Linked DNA regions of Homo sapiens: all the other regions are linked to region 1. The links are contacts of gene promoters, found by promoter capture Hi-C in human tissues and cell types (Jung and others, 2019). All regions are on one chromosome and are shown on one strand. The core of a region is centred on a gene start or on the middle of the fragment in contact, and the rest is flanking DNA. Distances in the headings are between cores, read along the strand shown.

Region 1 (3,182 bases), core at 28-2,527:
GGCATAAGCCACCACGCCCTGCCCATTTTTCTAAGTTGGATTATTTTACACTCCAGTCTGCTGTGAATGAGAGTTCCAGTTGTTGCGTATCGCAATCAATTTGTGATTGCCTACAAATGATGTGCCGTGATGAAATTGTCCCTGGTGTCCGAGAGGATCGCAAAGAATTTCCCTTCCTTTCTCTCCTTTCTGCTCCCCTTGTACTGTCTACTCCTTAAACTGGTACTTGATCCAGGAACATAATGGGGATGGACAGTGCAGATGGCACACATGGCCTCAGTCTATTGGAGCATCTCAAAGGAATTAGTCTGCAAATTCTAGTGCATCTAGGTGGAGCACAGGAAGGAAGAGAGGTGCAGACTCACGTATGGCCCTGGGGCACCTGCCATCCTCTCGCACCCGTACAGCCCTTACCTGCCAGCACTTACCCTACCCAGCTTGAGTTCTGGGCCTTCTCACCAGCACATCGCTGGGACCTGGTCGACTTCAGGTAAGTTTATTTCATGGCTCCCTCCCCCACGACCTGCACATGCCATATGTTCCTTCCCAGCCCCATGTCACTTGAAATGTTCTATCATGTCCAAGACTTCTCTCCTCATCCTAAAGTGCAGAAAATAAGGATGGAGAAGAGAAGGAGAAGAGAATCAAGAGAGATTCATTGAGAGGGAGGATCAGAAGCTCCTGGGCACCCCATACTGTAGAATAAAAATATTCATTATGGTGTTTTTCTTGCAAAATATTCCCCTCTACATAATTATGTTTTTACATGAATAATATAAATTTAAACAGGAGAAATACTTTTTGAAGAGTCTGAGAATCTTCATAAAGTTCAGGCGGCCACGAATTAGCTGTGTGACCTGGGGCATGCCCCTTAGACTCTGAGCCTCAGCTTCTCTGTATGTAAAATGGGTTGAAGCCGCCCTTCCCCACAAGCACCCTGTGCACAGGCAATGCCCAGCCCCATTATTTTCTGGACTCCGTGGCCAAGCATGCTTAGGACACACAGCCACATACTTCTGGGCAGTGTCATCTGGCAACTTGCTGTCATGTCAGTGTGGTCAAGCATTGTAGACCTCTATGAACCAAATATGCTTCAGGCTTGGGTTGAGCACAGGAGAGGGAGGAGGGAAAGGTCACTGGGGCTGGGAGTGCCTACTTCCCTCTGTGAGTGTCACCCCAGTCCACCCAGTACCATACCTTTCTCTCTCTGGACCCACTTCCTTTTGCTGCCGGCTCCTCCCCATTGAATAACAGCCAAGTTGCTTTGGTTTCTATTTCTTTGTTAAGTCGTTCCCTCTACAAAGGACTTCCTAGTGGGTGTGAAAGGCAGCGGTGGCCACAGAGGCGGCGGAGAGATGGCCTTCAGCGGTTCCCAGGCTCCCTACCTGAGTCCAGTGAGTTCCAGGGCTATGGGCACAGGGCTGCCTCAGCCAGAGGGACACAGCTCTGGGGCTCTGAGGAAGCAACTCCTGGGTGGCAGGGGATGGGGGTGGGGGCATCCCAAAGAGAACACAAGCAGGGCAGAAATATCAGAGGAGGTCATCCTGGCACACCTGTGCCGTGCTGAGCTCACTCATGCCTGGAGGGATGCTCCTTCCCACGAGTCATGGCTTTGACAGTGTTGACTGAGCTGTCCTGTCCTGTCCTGTCCTGTGTGCTCAGGGGAAGACATGTAGAGCGGGGTGGTTCATGTAAAGAGGAAGCAAGCACGCTTCTGGGACAGTAAGGACGCTACCCGGCATGGTAGTTAAGGGTGCTTACTGTGAAGGTGGCCTCCCTGGGTCCAGCTATTTACTGGCTGGTGGTCTCTGGGCCTCAGTTTCCATATCTGTGAAGTGGGAATAATACTTGAGCCCCCCACTCCCAGGGTTGGGATATGGATTAAGGAAGTAGTGTATCTAGTGTGTTTGAACAGTGCCTGACACACTGTAGGTGCTTTGGGAGTGTTTCATGTTATTGGGTGTCTGAGGGCAGCAGGGAAGACCTCCCGAGGAGGTGTCTGTGCTCTGAAGGTTGGGCATGGGCATGTTCAGGGCATCTGTGGAGGGGCAGTCTCAGAGGTGAGAGGGGGGTGAGGACTGTCCCTGCAGCGTGGGGTCAGAGGGCGGCAGGTGCCTTGCTGAAACCCTGTGAGGTTTATGAGTCCCCTTCATACACGGAAAATCTGAGGCTCAGGGAGGCAGAGGCCAGTTGCCAAATGCCTCCAGATGGGAGTGGCAGCCCCAGGAGCCCAGGAGACTTCAGGGGTCACTGTGTCCTGGGCCGGCTCCTGTCATAGGATCTCACCCCGCCTTGGCAAAGAGCTTCCCGAGGGGCTGGAGAGGGTGGGCTGATGGGTCCTTCCTGGGTGGGGAGGCAGGGTGGGGAGGGTGGGCAGAGGCAGGGTACTGAGGGAGGGAAGCTGCCATGGCCCACCTCAGCAGAGGCCAGGGTCGGGCTTGAGTGCCCCCTGGTGACACTGAGTCCAGAATGAGGCTGCCTACGTTCTGGTCTGCAGAGCTCGGCTCTGCTTTCTAAACTCCAGAGAGAAAGAATGGGGAAAGGAGGCCTGTTTCCTCCTGGCTGTCACCAATGACACCTCAGCCACCCTGTGGAGGCCCCTGAGGTAGGACCTGCACAGAGGGGGCTGGGGGAAGCTGGAACAGGCCGCTGGTGGGGGCCTTAGGGTCAGCAGGTGCTGCCTTGGGCATGTCACCCTGTCTCTGGTTTTCTGTCAAAGAGGGGATCCCAGAGCTTCTTCCAGGTTCTGACATATTATTATTCTGGTGACTGGTTTTTACTTTCTAATCCTTGGATTCAGAAGGAAAATTATCCTACGGACATCAGAGAGTTAAAACAGGGCCTTGGAGTCCAGACAAGAAAGATGATCAGTGCAGCCCCTATGGGTGTCCAGAGTACCCCTCTACCCCACGGGGGCTCCCCTGGGTTGGGACAATTAAGCCTCACTTGGTGACCCATCTGGCAGTCGGAGCCACGCTTCCTCCACATGCCGACAGTGGGGGAAGGTCACGCGGTTCGCTGTCCTGCTGAGGAGGGCTGAGTGCCATGAGGGCCTGGCTTGGAAACCTCACTCCCACTTCTTGTCTGGCCTCATCTAGCCCAGCCTCTTTGGAGGGCCTGGGGGAAGCTGGAACCACGTGCTGTGTGGTCCAGGAAGCACTGGGAGAGCCAGGAATAAGGAT
Region 2 (3,185 bases), core at 184-2,683, 190 kb after region 1:
GCATAGACACACAGGATGGGGGCAAGTTGTTTTCAGTGATGTTTATCAAGTACCCAGGATCCAGCAGCTGCTCCATCTGGGAGTGGCTGCTGCTTTCTCTCCTGGGAAGATTCCTTCTGATCTTGGGAGTAGGATTTGGGGTGAAGGCTGTGTCCAGAACTGGGTCCTGCCACCCCAACACCCTGCTGAGAACAAGGCACATTCCTTAGCACTCAGGGTAGGAGAGAGGCGGAGGGATGGAGAGGCTTCAATCCCCCTTCTCGGGAGACAAAGGGCTCTTCATGATTTAATTAAAATGCCCATCAAAACCTCAGAAGATAGGGGTTAGTTGAGATGAAATAAAAATAGTTGGAGTGAACACATTACAATTTCATTTCATTTCAGGGATATCTATGAGGTTCTAATATTAGAGAGAGACTTAATCTATCACTAAATTCCTATCTGGCCTGCCACACTGGGGGCATTTCTGAAGATGTCCAAATTCTGTTTTGAGAGGCCTGGAGAGTCCTCCGTCCTTTGTTTCTCTGTTCGAGGAGAACCACAGAGTGTGACAGTGTTTGGTATGTGGCAGGCACTCAATCAATATGTGCAGAAGGAAGGAGGGAGTTTCTTCTTTACTCCTTTAAGCTTCAGATTTAGAATTTGCCTAATCTTGGGGTGAGACAAAGCCTTGAGACCTCCACAGAGGTTTCCTTTGCATGGACAACTTTTCCTCCAGATAACACATGACTCACTTCCCTGCACTTCCAGTCTTTGCTCATGTGTCACCTCCTCACTGAGGCCAGCCTTGCCACCCCTATTTAAAATGACAGCCCTCCTTCCCCCAACCCTCCTGACCCCCCCACCTTGCTCTGTGCATCTCCCCCAGAGCTCAACCTCACACCTTACATCATTTACTTACTATTTGTTCATTGTTTCTCCTCACTAGAATGAAGGCCCCACAAAAGCAGGGATTTTTGTCTGTTTTGCTTATGGATGTATAAGTGCTATGCATAGTGCCTGCCTCAATAAATATCTGTTGGACAAATGCATTGATTAATAAGGCAGAGAAGAAATTTTTGTTAATTGCAATTACTATTGCTTTCCAAAGAGAGCAGACTCCAAGGATAATCCCGGGATAGTACAGCCCACAGATCCGAAGGTGCCTTATTCCCAGGCGCAGCTTCCCCACAGACTCCGGGTGTTCAGGAATAAACCCCGAGTCAGGGAATGAAATACTCCTCCAGCATCAACCTGAGGGCCAAGGCCCTACCTCCACACCCACTCCCTGGCTCGGTGCCCATCAGCCAAGTCCAAACCCACACAAGTTGTTCCCACTCTGGAAATGGTGGGGGAAAAAAACCAACATCCAGTGCCAGAAATCAGTGTGATGTACACAAAAGCTGCTTTTTTGCCTTTTGCAGATGCAGAGTGGCTGCCCAGGCTCACGTAGCCAGAGAGCAGGCCCTGGGGAGTGGTCCAGGAAAGCACTGGACAGTAGTCATCTGTCTGGAAAATATTAGCCCACAGTCTGATGTCTTCAAAACCTGAGCCAGGTCACCCTTTCTCTTTCACTGACAGAAATAAACAGTTCTTGGTCTTGAAATACACAGGACTTTCCCCAGTTACTGCTGCTGCTAGCACTGGCTTACTTAGTCTTTCATGGTTTAGAGCCTGTTTTCCTCCGGAAGCAAAATTTGGCTTGAGCGATATGAAGAGTAATGAAAACATTTTAAAATGCAAAGCTGGGTTCTTTTTCCCAAGGGTAGCTTCTTGGAAATCTCTGGTTTTTCCAGCAACAGCTGAAAAATTGAGGCCTAATGGATACTCTGTGTTACAAAGTCAGAGAACTCCACAGATGGAAAGAATCAACCTCCTTTCCCTGGATGCCCTTCATTTTAGAGCTGATGACGCCAGATGACGCTAGATGCCTAGAGCATCTAGACCCACTCCCCTTCATTTCTTCCTCCTGACCCATAGTCTAGAGACTTTGAAAACACTACAGGTGTTCAGATTCCATTTAAAGACTAGAGCTCGACATTAAATGCAGCCTTCCTATCACTATGTATGGGGGAGAGATAGTCTTTTCACTAAATGGTACTGGAACAATTGGATTTTTATATGAACTATAATGAACATTGACTCCTACCTCAAATCAAACAGAAAAAGGAATTAAGACAGATCATAAACCTAGATGTGAAAAGTAAAGCAATAAAGCTTCTAGAGGAAAACAGGAGAATATCTTCATGACCTTTGGGCAGGCAAAGATTTCTTAAACAGAACACAAAAAGCACTAACCATAAAGAAGAGATTGTTAAATTGGACCTCATTAAAATTAAAAACCATCCTTCATTAAAAGATATTATTAAGAAAGTGGCCAGGTGTGGGGCTCACACCTATAATCCTAGCACTTTGGGAGGCTGAGGCAAGAGGGTTGCTTGAGCCCGGGAGGTCGAGACCAGCCTGGGCAACATGGTGAGACAACATCTCTACAAAAAAAAAAAGTAATAATAACCAAGCATGGTGGTGGATGCCTGTAGTCCCAGCTACTTGGGAGGCTTAGATGGGAGGATCACTTGAGCCCAGGAGGCTGAGGTTGCAGTGAGCTGAGCCAAGATCATGCCACTGTATTGCAGCCTTGGCAACAGAGCAAGACTCTGTCTCCTGTCTTAAAAAAAAAAAAAAAAAAAAGTGAAAAGGCAAACTGTGGACTGATATCTAACAAAGCATTTGTGTCCAAAATATATATCAAACTTCTATAAATCAACAAGAAAAAGACAAGAAAACGACAAATAATTCAATGTTTAGAAATACTAGAAAATTCTTACTTCACAAAGGAGAATATCCAAGTGACCAACAAGCATTTGAAAAGGTGCTCAACATCATTCATCTTGAGGAAAATGCAGATTAAAATCTGCAATGAGATACCACGATGCACCTACCTAAATGGCTATAGCTAAAGAATTTGACTGTATCAAGTGTTCTTGAGAATGTGAAGCAACTTTACTAGTGGAGTGTGCTTTGGTACCACTGCTTTGAGAAACTGCTTGGCAGTAACTACTAAGACAATAGCACAAAATGTGTGCATAATATGTTCACCAAACACAGTGCAGCACTAATCATTGCATCCCAGACTGGAAATAACCCAGATACCCATAACAGGAGAATGGGTAACTGAATACATAGTGCTTTATTCATAATTATTT
Region 3 (3,182 bases), core at 298-2,797, 140 kb before region 1:
TTTGCCCAGGGTCGCCCAGGTCTGTGTGGGGAAGTGGCCGGCTGTTTAGTGTGTGCAGCAGGAGAGCTCAGGGGCTCCGACTGAAGTTAGTCTGCTGGGAGGCCCCTTGCTCCTGCCTTGTTTTTGCCCTCACAGGCTGGCTCCAGGGCTACACTCCTGCTATACTCTGCTCACCATCTGTTAAGGGAGCAGTTGGTAGGCTGTGAGCAGCGCCTGCCTCCCTCCCATGTCTAATTTAACCAGTCACCCTTCTCTCCGTCGGCCTCCACCAAGGCTGTGGGATCATTCTTTAATTACTTACAGGGGTCAGTCACCTGATGGGACGCCTTTGCTGGAGACAGACGGTACTGACAAGCAGATTAGTTGCACGTTGGGAGGTGGGAGGAGGGAGGAGACGAGGAGAGTGTGTGTAGCAGATACGAGTGGGTGGCTTCAAAATAGAAATTCATGAAGGCTCTAGGAAAGTAATTTTAAACACTGTTCATTTAGAGGCTGTGGTTCAGGGGTGAGCAAAGCTGGAGGCAGCCCACCCAGCACATGTTGACCTTGCTTTCCCGTCAGACTTGGGAGGGAGGAAGGCAGGAGTCTCCTCAACTCACCTTTGCAGAGCTCTGAAACTGGGTCTGTTCAAAGTTACACCTGCTCGTTTCTTGTGCCCGTGAATTCCTTTCTAGGAATGATCAGGCATCCATAGGCAAGATCTTCCTCGAGAGTCAATAGACCTGAGCCCAAATGTCAGCTCTGTGTCTGAGCTGCCATGTGACCTTGGACAAGCTGCTTCCCTTCCCTTGCTTGGGCTGAGTTTCTAACATTCCCAACTCAGGGGATCAAAAGAGGTGAGTCCTGTGGACTTCCACAGCTCTAGAATGTTCTGTGAGTAATATGCCCCTACTTGCTGTTTGCAGGGAGGCAGCCATGAGTTAGATAAAGCCCCGGAATTCGAGGCATCCATCCCTTCATGCTGGCCACCAAGCAGACCTGTGGATGTTGACTTGTCTCTTGTCTGCCCATAGATGTTGGCTTGGAATAGGGAGGAGGTGGGACTTATTTTGAGCCCGAGTTCCCCATGTACAAAATGGGGCTAACAGGATTTGTCTTGCAGGGTAATGAGGATTTGTGAAAACATGGTTGAATTCCTGGCACATGGTAGGTGCTCATTAAATGGTGTTATACACTTAGTACTTGGCATTCCCAGCCTTACTTTTTGTCTTTGCTGGAAATATATTCCATGCGGGGAGGGAAATGGGAATGATCTTACTTTATAGATGCCACTTCATAGAAAGCATTGGCACTGGGATTGCCAGCCTTTCCCAAAGCAGTGTGTGTTCCTTCATCATTCTGCTGATGATGATCATTTATGGAGCAATTTACTATGTGAGGTACATGATAACCCCAGTCTCCTTTAATCCTCGTGAAACCCTATGAAGCAATAAGGGACTATTATTATCCACACTTTATACATATAAATGAAGAAAGTGAGGCTTTGTGAAGTTGAATGATGTTCCCAAGGTCACCCAGTTAGTAAATGCTGAAGCTGGAGTCCTCAGTCTTAGTTATTAATGTAAGCTTGCTTTTCAGGACAGAGAGGGCTTTGGAGGACCAGGAAGGGCTCCAATTCTGAGGCAAAGGCTGTGAAACACCGGGGTCAGGCAGGAAATCATGCCCTTGAATTCTTTAACAGGGCAGATTTTTTAAGTCAGAGACATTAACGATCAGCTCCGTATAATGTTTATGGCCTGTGTGACCCTGCCCCGTGGTGCTCGGTAGACCCCACTGCCCATGTGTGCCTGATGATTCCATTTCTGTCTTGCTTATTGCAAGTGACCTTGAATTACCTAAAACCCAGGGAAATGTGTTCTTAATCTGCCCTTTTAACAATGCTGATTTTACCCTTCCAACTCAGATTTAAATAACCTTTCCTTCTGTGTTGTCGTGAGTGTAAAGAAGCAGCATCATGAAAAAGCCCAGCCCTAAACTCTCTGTAATTATGGGGTATGGTGGAGAGGGAGGGGCACTGAAAAGGAAATAATGGGGTCGTGAGACCATTGGAAATTGCACTGGTTATATTCAGTAGCAGAGCTGGAGATTTTTGCCTGCTGCTGGGAAAAATTTAAAAAGCAAAACAACCTCTGCCTCAGCCTTGGAGGTTTAGCTGTTGAATTTACTCCCTTTAATTTGAGGCACCTGAGGCTCCCATTTTGTGGTGTGATTGGCTGGACTTTCCACCACTTCTTCCTCTCTCTGGCCAGAGAGAAACTTGGGGACGCTGAGGTGGTTTGTAGCAGCTGTCATCAATGTCCGCCTTTCATGTCCACAGTGGTTTGGAGCAGAGGCCCAGAAATGCTTGGGGAGTCTCTGTGAATTCAGAAGAAGTCTCCTTCTCCCACTCCGCTGTCTGACAGCAGGTTAAAAAAAAAAATTACAAAGAGCTTCCAGGAACAAAAAGTGGAGATGATTTTTTTTATGGCCCTTAAAGACTTGAAATTTGCAGGAGAAATGCCGTGTGGTTGCGTAATTCTATATGTGGAGTATCTGGAATTATTCCTGGAGAGGCGGGCAAGCACCCAGATTAGAGATGTGTAAAGTGCAGTTTTGTCTTGCAGTCCAAGCAGGTGAGCATTCAGGCCTGTGGGAAGGAAGGAAGGGAACAGCAGGTGGCAGTAACTGGGAAGCTTGCCTCTGAGTGAGATTAACTAGAATGTATTTTTCCGCTGCATTTAAAGAGCCAGTGAAAGGGGCAGATTTACCCAGGGTCACGTGCCTGGTCAGTGCCTTAAATGGACCCAGGGTGTCAGCCCCCTCTGCCTCGACTTCAACAGAGTTAATGTTTCCCCAGAGACTAATAGAGGGACCGATATTAGGGATTCCGGGGACAAGTACGAACAGGTCTTTCGATTTACATTTAAAAGCAGTAGAGAGCAGGAAGGAGATTTCTGGCATTTGTGCAGTTTAAAAACCAACTAGACAAAAAATCTTGATGGAGCTGTTTCCCAATCAGCCTGGCAGTCCTCTCAGCATTGACGTCGTGAGAATGAAAGCTTCTCTGAGAGTGCCATTGGGCGGTGTCCCTTCCAAGTTCTCCAGGAAGCAAATTTTGGACCCTGGCCGCTGACTCAGTGTGGCCTGCTGGGTGGCTCCCTGTGCCTGGGAGGCGGCCCTGTCAGTGTCCCTGGGCTCAGCCC
Region 4 (3,233 bases), core at 512-3,011, 150 kb before region 1:
CTGCACTGCCTTTCTGGCTAGCTGTGTGTCTTTGGGCAAGTTGCTTACCCTTTCTGAGCAATAGTTTCCTCATCTGTGAAATGGGGATTATAATGGGGTCGTTTTTCATAGTAAGTAAGATGAGCCATGGAAAAGCACAATGCCTTGTGCAGAATGAGAATATTTTTATATTATAATATTACTATTTATTTTATCGACAAGTGTTTAATTAGCACCCATTAGGGACTGGGCACTATTCTTAGCTCTGGGGAAAATAGCAGTGAACAAAATGGACACAAATGTAGACCTTGTGGAACTTACGCTTCAGTGTTGGGAGGAGACATTCAGATGACAAGTAAATATCACCTGGAATCCCAGTTACTTGGGAGGCTGGGGCAGAAGGATCACCTGAGCCAGAGTTCAAGACCAGCCTGGGCAACATAGCAAGATTCCCATCCCTAAAAATACCACACACACACTAAGGAAAATGTGTTATCTGTTAAGTGGTAAAAGTGCTGTGGAGAAAATGAAAGCAGGGAGGGGTGCCTAGATGGTGGTATAATTTAAAGTGAGGGGTCAGGATGGGTTTGCAGAGGAGGTGATATTTGAGTAAAGACCTCAAAAGGGTAGAGAAGGGCTCCATGGGGATACAGCTGGAAAAGAGCTTTGGAAGCTGAGCTCATGTGGAAGCCAAAGGGGAGTGAACCAGGGTTGTTGGAAAACCCTGGGGCCAGGGGTGAGGCCACAAGGGGCCCTGGGCATGACATTTAGGGAGGTGCTTGCTTTCCAGTACCCACTGCACTCACGGGTCTCTGAGCACAGGTGTGAAGGAGGGAAGAGTAATGAGAAGAGAAGGTGGTGAGAGGTGCTGTGTTTATGTGGGCTCTGCCTCCATCCTGTAGGATCCACAGGTGATTTTGAAACTTATGTCTTACTAAAAAATGGAGTTTTGGGGCTGGCACACTAACCTACTGACTTACAGAAAGTCACTTTCTGACTGCGTGGGCAGGTGACAGAGCGCTGGCCCGGGGCAGGCTGAGGCTCTGCCACTCACTGAGGGCGTCAGGTGGGTGAGCCATGTTTATTCATCCAGCAGCTTTTACAGAGCTCCCACGGCAGGAGATCATGCTGGCACCTGCCCGGTATTACTCTCTTCATCTATGACACGGGGACAGCGATGCCCTTCCGTCCACCCCATCCTTACAGGGGTGTTCCTCCTGAGGCAAGAATGCAATAGAAAAGCAAAACAGAATGTATGAGGCTATTTGCATTATCCATAATACAGAAAAAAATGAAAATAAGGTAGCTGTCCAGTGGTAAGGGGAGGTTTGGCAGACCATGGCACAGCATGCGATGGGTGGGTCATCACACACACAGATGTCAGTGACAGAGGCTGGGTAAGAACATGAGCATATTCATACTGTTACATCGAGGAAAAATACACAGTATTTAAGATTGCATGTATGTGGCATTTGTAGTCCTGTAAATATGTGATGATATGTATGCATATGGGGAAAACTAGAGGTGAAATTGAAATGAGTTATTTGTGGTGGGACTGTTTTTCTTTTGCAAAAATTCCTTTATTATTGCTATAATTGCATTCCTTCATTTATTAAAGTAATGAATATTTGAGCACCTCCTAGCTATCAGGCTCTGAGAAGGTGCTTGGGTAGAGCAGTGGACTGGACTGCACGGCTCCTGCCCCGGGGGGACCATGCTCAGTGAGCGATTCTTGAGCCCCCACCCCTTCTCAGCGCTCAAGGATTGAAGGCTAATGAAGTGGTGCAAAATTCAAACTTTCTGGAATAAAACGGAGAGTTGGTCCTCCAGGTTCTCTGCAGGGCGCTTGTTGAGCCAGTCCCAGATTCTGCTGAGAAACAGGGAAGTTTCCAGAGTTGCCACCCCCTCCTGAGGGTAGAGAACTCAGGGGTAGAGCTGGCTTGGCACCAAAAGGGCTCCCTGAGTCTTGGCTGCTGGGACTTGAGCAGTGCTGGGGCGCTGCCGGTGAGCTGTGATCCCATCTTCTCAGGGAGCGCCCCTGCCTGTTTGACTGTGGTGCCGTTGGTATGAGAGGTTGCCCCAGGAAGGAGACCGCAGCTGTGGGCTCATCTCCTGGGTGCCCAACACTCACAGGGTCCACATTGCCCGTGATGTGCCCTGGGAAGCCCATGGTTGACTCAGAAGGACTGAAATGTTAGACAGCCACAGATGGTCCCACTGCCCCCACTCTGAGAAAAGCCCTCTGGCTGTTTGGATGAGGGTGGTGGCGATGAGGACATTTGTAACTGCAGCACACATGTAAGGCCTGCTGTCTATGTTCTGGGCTCTCAGATAGCACTGGGAATACTGTACCCCACCAGTCCCCTCCATGACAGGAAAGGGGTCCCGATCCAGACCCCAGGACAGGGTTCTTGGATCTCATGCAAGAAAGAATTCAGGGCAAGTCCATAGAGTAAAGTGAAAGCAAGTTTATTAGGAATGTAAAGGAATAAAAGACTGGATGCTCCACAGACAGAGCAGCCCTGAGGGCTGCTGGTTGCCCATTTTTATGGTTATTTCTTGGTGATATGCTAAATAAAGGGTAGATTATTCATGCCTCACCTTTTCAGACCATACAGGGTAACTTCTTGACATTGCCATGGTATATGTAAAGTGTCATGGCGCTGGTGGGAGTGTAGCAGTGAGAACAACCAGAGGTCACTCTTGTGGCCATTTTGGTTTTGGTGGGTTTTAGCTGGCTTCTTTGCTGCAACCTGTTTTATCAGCAAGGTCGTTATGACCTGTGTTTTGTGCTGACCTCCTGTCTCATCCTGTGACTTAAAGTGCCTAACCATCTGGGAATGCAGCCTGTTAGCTCTCAGCCTTATTTAACCCAGCTCCTGTTTAAGACGGAGTTGCTCTGGTTCACATGCCTCTGACACCTCTAGCTGCCCTGGAAACACCAGAGTTTCGTTCTTACCTCCTATTATACAGGGAACTGAAGCCCAGAGAGGTGAGTTAGACTCTTGAGGGCACACCAGTGGTGACAGGCTGAGATTAGAATTGTAGTCTGGCTGATGACCAAGCCCATACCTTTGCAGTTTCTTTGTCACAGCTCACTGGACTGTGGGGTGGTACAAGTTAAAAATCTGTCTACATAGGGAAAACGGTGATGTATAGACCCCTGTCTGCCTCCTGCTCCACTTCCGGCCCATCCCTCCCAGAATGCCATCATAGCCCCTCCACTTCTACGCCAGATGCTTCAGGGGAAGTTC
Region 5 (3,020 bases), core at 96-2,595, 240 kb before region 1:
TTTATAGTTCCATATAAATTTTAGGATTGTTTTTTCTATTTCTGTGAAAAATGTCATTGGTATTTTGGTAGGGATTGCATTCAATCCGTAGATTTCTTTGGGCAGTATAGACAGTTTAAAGATATTGATTCTTCCAATCCATGAATATCTTTCCATTTTTTTGTGGCCTCTTCAATTTCTTGCATCAACGGTTTCAAGTTTTCATTGTAGCGATCTTTCACTTCTTTGGTTAAGTTTATTCCTAGGTATTTTATTTGTAGCTATTATAATTGGAATCACTTTCTTGATTTCTTTTTCAGATTGTTTTTTGTTGGCATCTAGAAATGCTACTGACTTTCGTATGTTGCATATGATACATGACTTTTGTATCCTGCAACTTTACTGAATTTGTATTTGTTTTTCAGTTCTAATCGTGTTTTTGTGGAGTCTTTTAGGTTTTTCCAAATATCATCTGCAAACAAGGGTATTCGTCAATCTTCCTTTCCAATTGGGATGCCCTTTATTTCTTTCTCTTGTCTGATTGCTCTAGCTAGGACTGGCTATATCGAATAATAGTGGTGAAATTGGGCATCTTTGTCGTGTTCCCGATCTTTCAGGAAAGGTTTTCAGATTTTCCCCATTTAGTGTGATACCAGCAGTAGTTTAATCGTATATGGCTTTTATTATGTTGGGGTATGTTCCTTCTATACCAAGTTTTTTGAGAGTTTTTTTCGGGTTCTCATGAAGGTGCTTTCTTGTGTGGATAGTTGTTCAAATTTGGTGTTCCTATGGGGAAGATGATTGGTGGAACTCTCTATTTGGTCATCTTGCTCCACCTCCTCTTGCATAAGATTTCTTTCACTTAGCATGGAATGCTTTGGAGAGTCATCCATGTCATCACATTTAGCTGTAATTCCTTTCTTTTGTCATAGAGCAGTATTCCATCTACCCAACGCTCGAAATTGTCAGTCTTCCTTTTAGCCATGTGCAAGGATATGAAGTGCAACTCACTGTGGTTCTAATCTGCTTTTCCCCGATGACTAAAGATGTCAAGCACATTTTCATCTGTTTATTGGCCATTTATGTATCTTCTTTTGAGAAATGTCTGGTTAAGTCCTTTGCCCATTTTGAATGTGGATTGTCTGTCTTCTTGTTATGGATTTGTGGGAGTTCTCTATATGTCCTGGATATGAGTCCTCTGTCAGATATACCGCTGTGAATATTTTCTCTCAATCTCCCAGTAAAAATTGATGGGTCTTTTTGCTCACTAATTATGTCTTTTGAAGGTTTTATTTTCAATGATGACAAATTTATCCTTTCTTTTTAATGGGTAATGCTTTAGTGTCCTGTCTAAGAAAATTATTGGTTACCCCAAAGTCAAGAAGTTATTCTCTGTTTTCTTCTAGAAGCCGTATGTTTTTACTTTTACATGTAGATCCGTGATTCATCTTGAATTAATTTTTATATATAGGCCAGGTATGGTGGCTTATGTCTGTAATCTCAGCACTTTAGGAGGCCGAGGCAGGAGGATGACTTGAGGCCAGAAGTTTGAGACCAGCCTGGGCAACATAGCAAGACCCTGTCTCTACAAAAGTTTTTAAAAAGACTAGCTGGGCATGGTGCACTCTTGTAGTCTCAGGTACTTGGGAGACTGAGGATTGCTTGAGCCCAGGAGTTCTAGGCTATAATTAGCTATGACTGTGCCACTGCACTATAGGCTGGGGGACAGAGTAAGACCCAGTCTCTTAAAAAAATGTGTATGATGTAAGGTGGAGTGAAGGTTCATTTTTTTCCCCATACAGACATCCATTTGTAGAACATGGAAATCTTTTTGGCTGAATCTCACACATAAATTCTCCTGGTAAATTATGCCTGTTTTAAGAGTCTGTCTCCCAGAACTGATTTTCCAGCTGCTTCTAGTAGCCTCTGAATAGGCTTAGAAGATGAAATAATAATGGTGAAAAAACAAACACCTAGACTGAGTAAAGAAACAACAGCAGAAACAGCAATGGCCCATTTGTGATATTGTCTAGCCTTTAGCCTCCCTCATTGCCTAGGCTGCATTTGGCTTCCCACGGCCAGAGCCAAGGAGGGCAGAGGGGAAGGGGAAGCAAAACATGGAGCAGGATGAGGCAAAAATAGAAGCAAGTGTTGAGAAAGTCCCCACAGGGCTGAGCCAAGCTGGCCTGGAAGCTGGCTGGTTCTTTGGGGCCCTACTATAATTTGAATGCTTGTGTCCCCTCCAAAATTCATGTTAAAACTTAAATTCCCAATGCAACAGTAATAAGAGGTGAGGCCTTTAGGAGGTGATTAGGCCATTGAGGGCTCCATCATCATGGATGGGATTAGTGTCCTTTAAAAGGGCTGGAGGGAACTAGTTGGGATCCTTTTGCCCTTCCGCATCCATCATGTGTGGGCACAACAAGAAGGCCCTCACCAGACACCAAATGTTGGTGCCTTGATGTTGGTATTTCCAGCCTCCAAAACAGTGAAAAAATAAATTTTGTTATTTATAACTTACCCAGTCTCAGGTATTTTGTTACAGCAGCACAGAGTAAGACAGGTCCTCAGCAGGAATCTAGCTGTGCAGCTTCTCTGTGTCTCTCTCCTGGTATTTGTGGAGACTGGGAATATTAAGTCTCAGAGGCGCAAGTCAGATAAGAGGGCTGTGGGCCAAACTCTCCTCCAACAAGGCCAGAATGCCCTCTGCAGCACACAACCAGTGATCCAGAAGCTTGCTCATGGTATCTTATTCATTCAATTTGCCCTACCATCTTAGAAGAAAGATACTTATTACTTCAATTTTATAGATGAGGAAACTGAAGATCCAAGAGATTGAATATGCTTCCTAGCACCATAAGTTACATGTGGAGAATTAGGATTCTCTTTTCCACTTTCCTCTCCACTGCCTCTCATTTCCCCTGTGATCCAGCCCTTCCAAACCACGTGGTGCTGAACCAGTCAGACCACTGTATAACCACAGGCTTTCCCTCTTGAGAAACTTGCAAGCAAGCAAAAAAGAGATGCATGTGGGCCACTTC
Region 6 (3,212 bases), core at 121-2,620, 170 kb before region 1:
AAACACAAAAACAAAACCAAAAAAACAACTGTCTATCTACACACACACACACACCCTCGGCTGGCCTGAGAGGTAAAAGAAACATCCCATAGGACCTGCTGAAAGAGCTCCTGAGGCACGCTGGAGCCTTTCTTGTGTGCCATGCACTGTATCTGGCACTATAAAGAGGGTACAATAGCTAGTGGCTTCTGCAATCAAGCAGCTTACAAGAGAAAATTGAGAGGGGAGACATTTTTTCTGGTTGACAGATGTCGAAAGCATGAAGGTGTGGGAGCTTTGATCAGAGACTTGGTTTTTCAGTTTTGCCAGATAATAGAACGCATGGGGTGAACTAATGGGAGAGGAGGGTGAACAGATGGGCAAGGCTTGATTGCTGGGTTAGGAGGCACAGAAATGCACAGAGGACAAAGGACTACCAGTCCTTGGCAGTACTGTACTGCTCCATGGCCACTACCTGGGTCCAGGGCCACATTCAGATCTGAGGTTAGATAGTAAGAATTGCTAACATTTATCCAGCGACCACATGTGCCAGTAATCAATCTAGGTGCTGTACATGTATTAACTGATTCTTCATAGGAACCCTATTAAAGAGTTATTTGATGAGGAGAGTCGGGCATTCACTGGAAATCGAACGTGCCCAAAGTCTCACCCTAGACCGTGGTGGAGTCAGAATTTGAATCCTGGCCACTTGCTCCGAAGCCACCGACAATTCAGTGTGCTGTCCCCCGTGTCTGGGCTGGCTTGGTGGGCTGGGAATGGCGGGGGAATGGGACACTTATTTTGGCAGGTAAATGTGGTTCAGAAGAAAGCTCTTCGTCTTTCTCCAAGCCTGAGCAATCGTTTTGGCGCAGGCAGTCCAGAGTAGAGCGCTTTGTGAGCCAGCTACAGAAGTGCTGTAAGCCCCTTCCCACTAGATGGCAGCCCCTAAACCCACATACAAATCCTGGAACCTCCCTGGTCCCCATCTTCCAGGGCTGGGCTGCAGCTGAGGAACTGCGGGACGCACACCCGCCGGGCGTCCAGGGGGCGCCGCCCCATCCGGGGGTCGCGGGAAGCTCCTAGGCCGGGTGGGGGACGGAGGCGGACGGGGAGACGCTGCTCCCCCGACTCTCGGCGCCTGGGGGAGGAGCTGGCGCGGAGCAGCTCCACCCGGGGCTCCCGGTTGGGGCCGGCCCTCACCGCCTGCCTCGCCGCGGCCGCCGGGAGGGGAGGGGAGAGGAGGGCAGGGAGGGCGGCGCGGGCGCGGTCCGGGGCCCCGAGGGCGGAGGCCGGCGGCAGGTGCGCGGCGTGGACTACAAGTCCCAGCATGCCCGGCCGCCCTGACCCAGCCCCCGCCGCCGCTTAAAGGCTCCGGGAGCCGCAGCCGTCGGGTCGCCGCGGCTTTCGCTTTGCTGCCGCGGCTGGGAGGGTGGAAGCGGCAGACTCAGCGGCCGGCTCTACCGGCGTCCCGGCTCGGGCAGCGCCGAGGGGCGCTCCTGGTCCAGCTCTCCTGGCTCGGGGGTTCCTTGCCGAGGCGCCCGCGCCCCGGGCTCCCAGCCTCGGCCGCCGCGGCCCCGATGCCGAGGCATGGATAGAGCAGCGCTGCGCGCGGCGGCGATGGGAGAGAAGAAGGAGGGCGGTGGCGGGGGGGATGCGGCGGCCGCGGAGGGAGGCGCAGGGGCCGCGGCCAGCCGGGCGCTGCAGCAGTGCGGGCAGCTCCAGAAGCTCATCGACATCTCCATCGGCAGCCTGCGCGGGCTGCGCACCAAGTGCGCTGTGTCCAACGACCTCACCCAGCAGGAGATACGGACCCTGGAGGTAAGTGGGTCGGGGACCAGGCTGGGCTCGAGGAGCGGGCCCGGACACCTCCCTCCGGGCCCCAGTACTCCTGGCCGAGTTGCATCCTTGAGCCCGCGTCGCCCCCCTTGGAGGCTTCCCCTCCCTCCTGCACTCGCTGATGCGGCAGCCGGAGGACCCGGGACCAGCCCTCATCTTGGGCAGGATTTGTGGGGCGGGTGCGTCGTGGGAACTGGGATGGAGGCTCGAGGGGCCCGTGCGGGGTGGGCTGCGCGCGGACATCCCCTTTCCCCCCTTCTCCGCCCCCACCCCATTTCCAGTTTGCGGGGCCGCAGGACTCGTTGTCCCACCGAGTCACAAGCTGGACTTTTCCCCGTGTGACTGAGCCGAGCACCCGTGGGCCAGGGTGACGGAGGAGGTTCCCCTGAAGCGTGATCGCAGGCCTGCCGTCCCCTGTTCCCCTCACGCCCCAGACGCCGTCCTGTCCCTTCCTTTCCTCTCCTCTCAGGTCTTGTCTGCCGCCTTTTCAAAAAGTGTTGCTGAAACTGCATTTTTGTTATTCAGGCGTTTGGTGCTTTCCTTTCACGTTGCCACGGAGGCTCGCTGCTTAAAATGTATTAATAATTACCCGCTGACTCCCCCTGCTTCCCCCCAAAGATTGGATTTAGGCTTAGGAAGGATTATGCTGGGAAGCAAGCCTTTGGTGGGAAGATGAAACTGTTTAAAGGGTTCTGATGGAGACAGTCTGGAGTGTAAAGAAGAAATAAGATATGCGGGCCTTCCTCTCTCAAATTATAGCTGGGGAAGTATCTGAAGGATTTGGAAAAACCAGCCCGAGGGTTGTTGGGGCACCCTGTCCATACACAAATGAGGGCAACTAGTGGATTCTGAATGTGATTTTGGCCAGGGACGGGGCGGTGAAACGTCAGACCAGTTAATAGCTGCCCCGTCTTGAAGAAGGAACCTCTCACCATCTTGCCCTGCCACATCTGGCCTCCTGCAGGTCTGGGGATGTTTTGTTTTATTAGATCCTCAATTTCTCCTCCCCCAAACCCTCCCCCCGCCCCTTATTGCTAATTGCCTCTGCCAGCTGTCATAAGGCCCTCTGTGATCGCGGTAATTATTACAAGACCAATCCTTCCTCCAGGCATGCCACAAAGCCGAATCCTTGTTTGATTCCAAATGCTCGGGGGTGACTCTCCCTCAGTTTTATTTTCTTAAAAGCTATAAAACCACAGGACATTGGAAGAATACAGTCAGTGCTGGGTATTATTATTTTTTATTACAGTTGGCTAAAGCTGTACTGACCAAGGCTTTGCTTAAAAAACAAACAAAACCCCCTACAACTGGCCTTTCTGCATGCATGCTGCAGTTTTCCAAGTATTGAGAGAAACTGATTTTTTGAACACAGCTGAGTGTGTTTGCTCAGCAAAGTT

What was found. Contacts are between HindIII fragments. The study calls those that stand out against the background at their distance.
Region 2: a contact is called between a fragment that was not itself captured here and the fragment with the promoter of LGALS9 in region 1, in 2 of the 25 tissues and cell types used here (lymphoblastoid cells and thymus).
Region 3: a contact is called between a fragment that was not itself captured here and the fragment with the promoter of LGALS9 in region 1, in 4 of the 25 tissues and cell types used here (aorta, ovary, spleen and 1 more).
Region 4: a fragment that was not itself captured here is called in contact with the fragment with the promoter of LGALS9 in region 1 in 1 of the 25 tissues and cell types used here (spleen).
Region 5: a fragment that was not itself captured here is called in contact with the fragment with the promoter of LGALS9 in region 1 in 3 of the 25 tissues and cell types used here (mesenchymal stem cells, mesendoderm cells and spleen).
Region 6: the fragment with the promoter of KSR1 here is called in contact with the fragment with the promoter of LGALS9 in region 1 in 2 of the 25 tissues and cell types used here (H1 embryonic stem cells and heart left ventricle).

The regions. Positions count from the first base shown.
Region 1 is chr17:27,629,911-27,633,092 of GRCh38, forward strand. LGALS9 (galectin 9) reads left to right here and starts at 1,278. Exons shown (of 11, transcript NM_009587.3): 1 at 1,278-1,394. The coding sequence starts at 1,356. RefSeq lists enhancers at 903-1,720, 1,188-1,307. The HindIII fragment of the contact is 14,549 bases long and covers 1-3,182 here.
Region 2 is chr17:27,817,203-27,820,387 of GRCh38, forward strand. No RefSeq gene overlaps it. Among named protein-coding and RNA genes, the nearest start is that of NOS2, 18 kb to the left of the region's middle. RefSeq lists a promoter at 1-62. The HindIII fragment of the contact is 5,954 bases long and covers 1-3,185 here.
Region 3 is chr17:27,491,744-27,494,925 of GRCh38, forward strand. All of the region lies in intron 1 of KSR1 (kinase suppressor of ras 1), which reads left to right. Among named protein-coding and RNA genes, the nearest start is that of KSR1, 37 kb to the left of the region's middle. The HindIII fragment of the contact is 3,331 bases long and covers 1-3,182 here.
Region 4 is chr17:27,474,472-27,477,704 of GRCh38, forward strand. The region is part of intron 1 of KSR1 (kinase suppressor of ras 1); the gene reads left to right. Among named protein-coding and RNA genes, the nearest start is that of KSR1, 20 kb to the left of the region's middle. RefSeq lists enhancers at 930-1,443, 2,592-2,886. The HindIII fragment of the contact is 6,136 bases long and covers 1-3,233 here.
Region 5 is chr17:27,394,153-27,397,172 of GRCh38, forward strand. No RefSeq gene overlaps it. Among named protein-coding and RNA genes, the nearest start is that of KSR1, 61 kb to the right of the region's middle. The HindIII fragment of the contact is 3,243 bases long and covers 1-2,967 here.
Region 6 is chr17:27,455,078-27,458,289 of GRCh38, forward strand. It overlaps KSR1 (kinase suppressor of ras 1), which reads left to right and starts at 1,371. Exons shown (of 21, transcript NM_001394583.1): 1 at 1,371-1,797. The coding sequence starts at 1,567. RefSeq lists silencers at 901-1,660, 2,181-2,230 and an enhancer at 1,036-1,537. The HindIII fragment of the contact is 18,960 bases long and covers 1-3,212 here.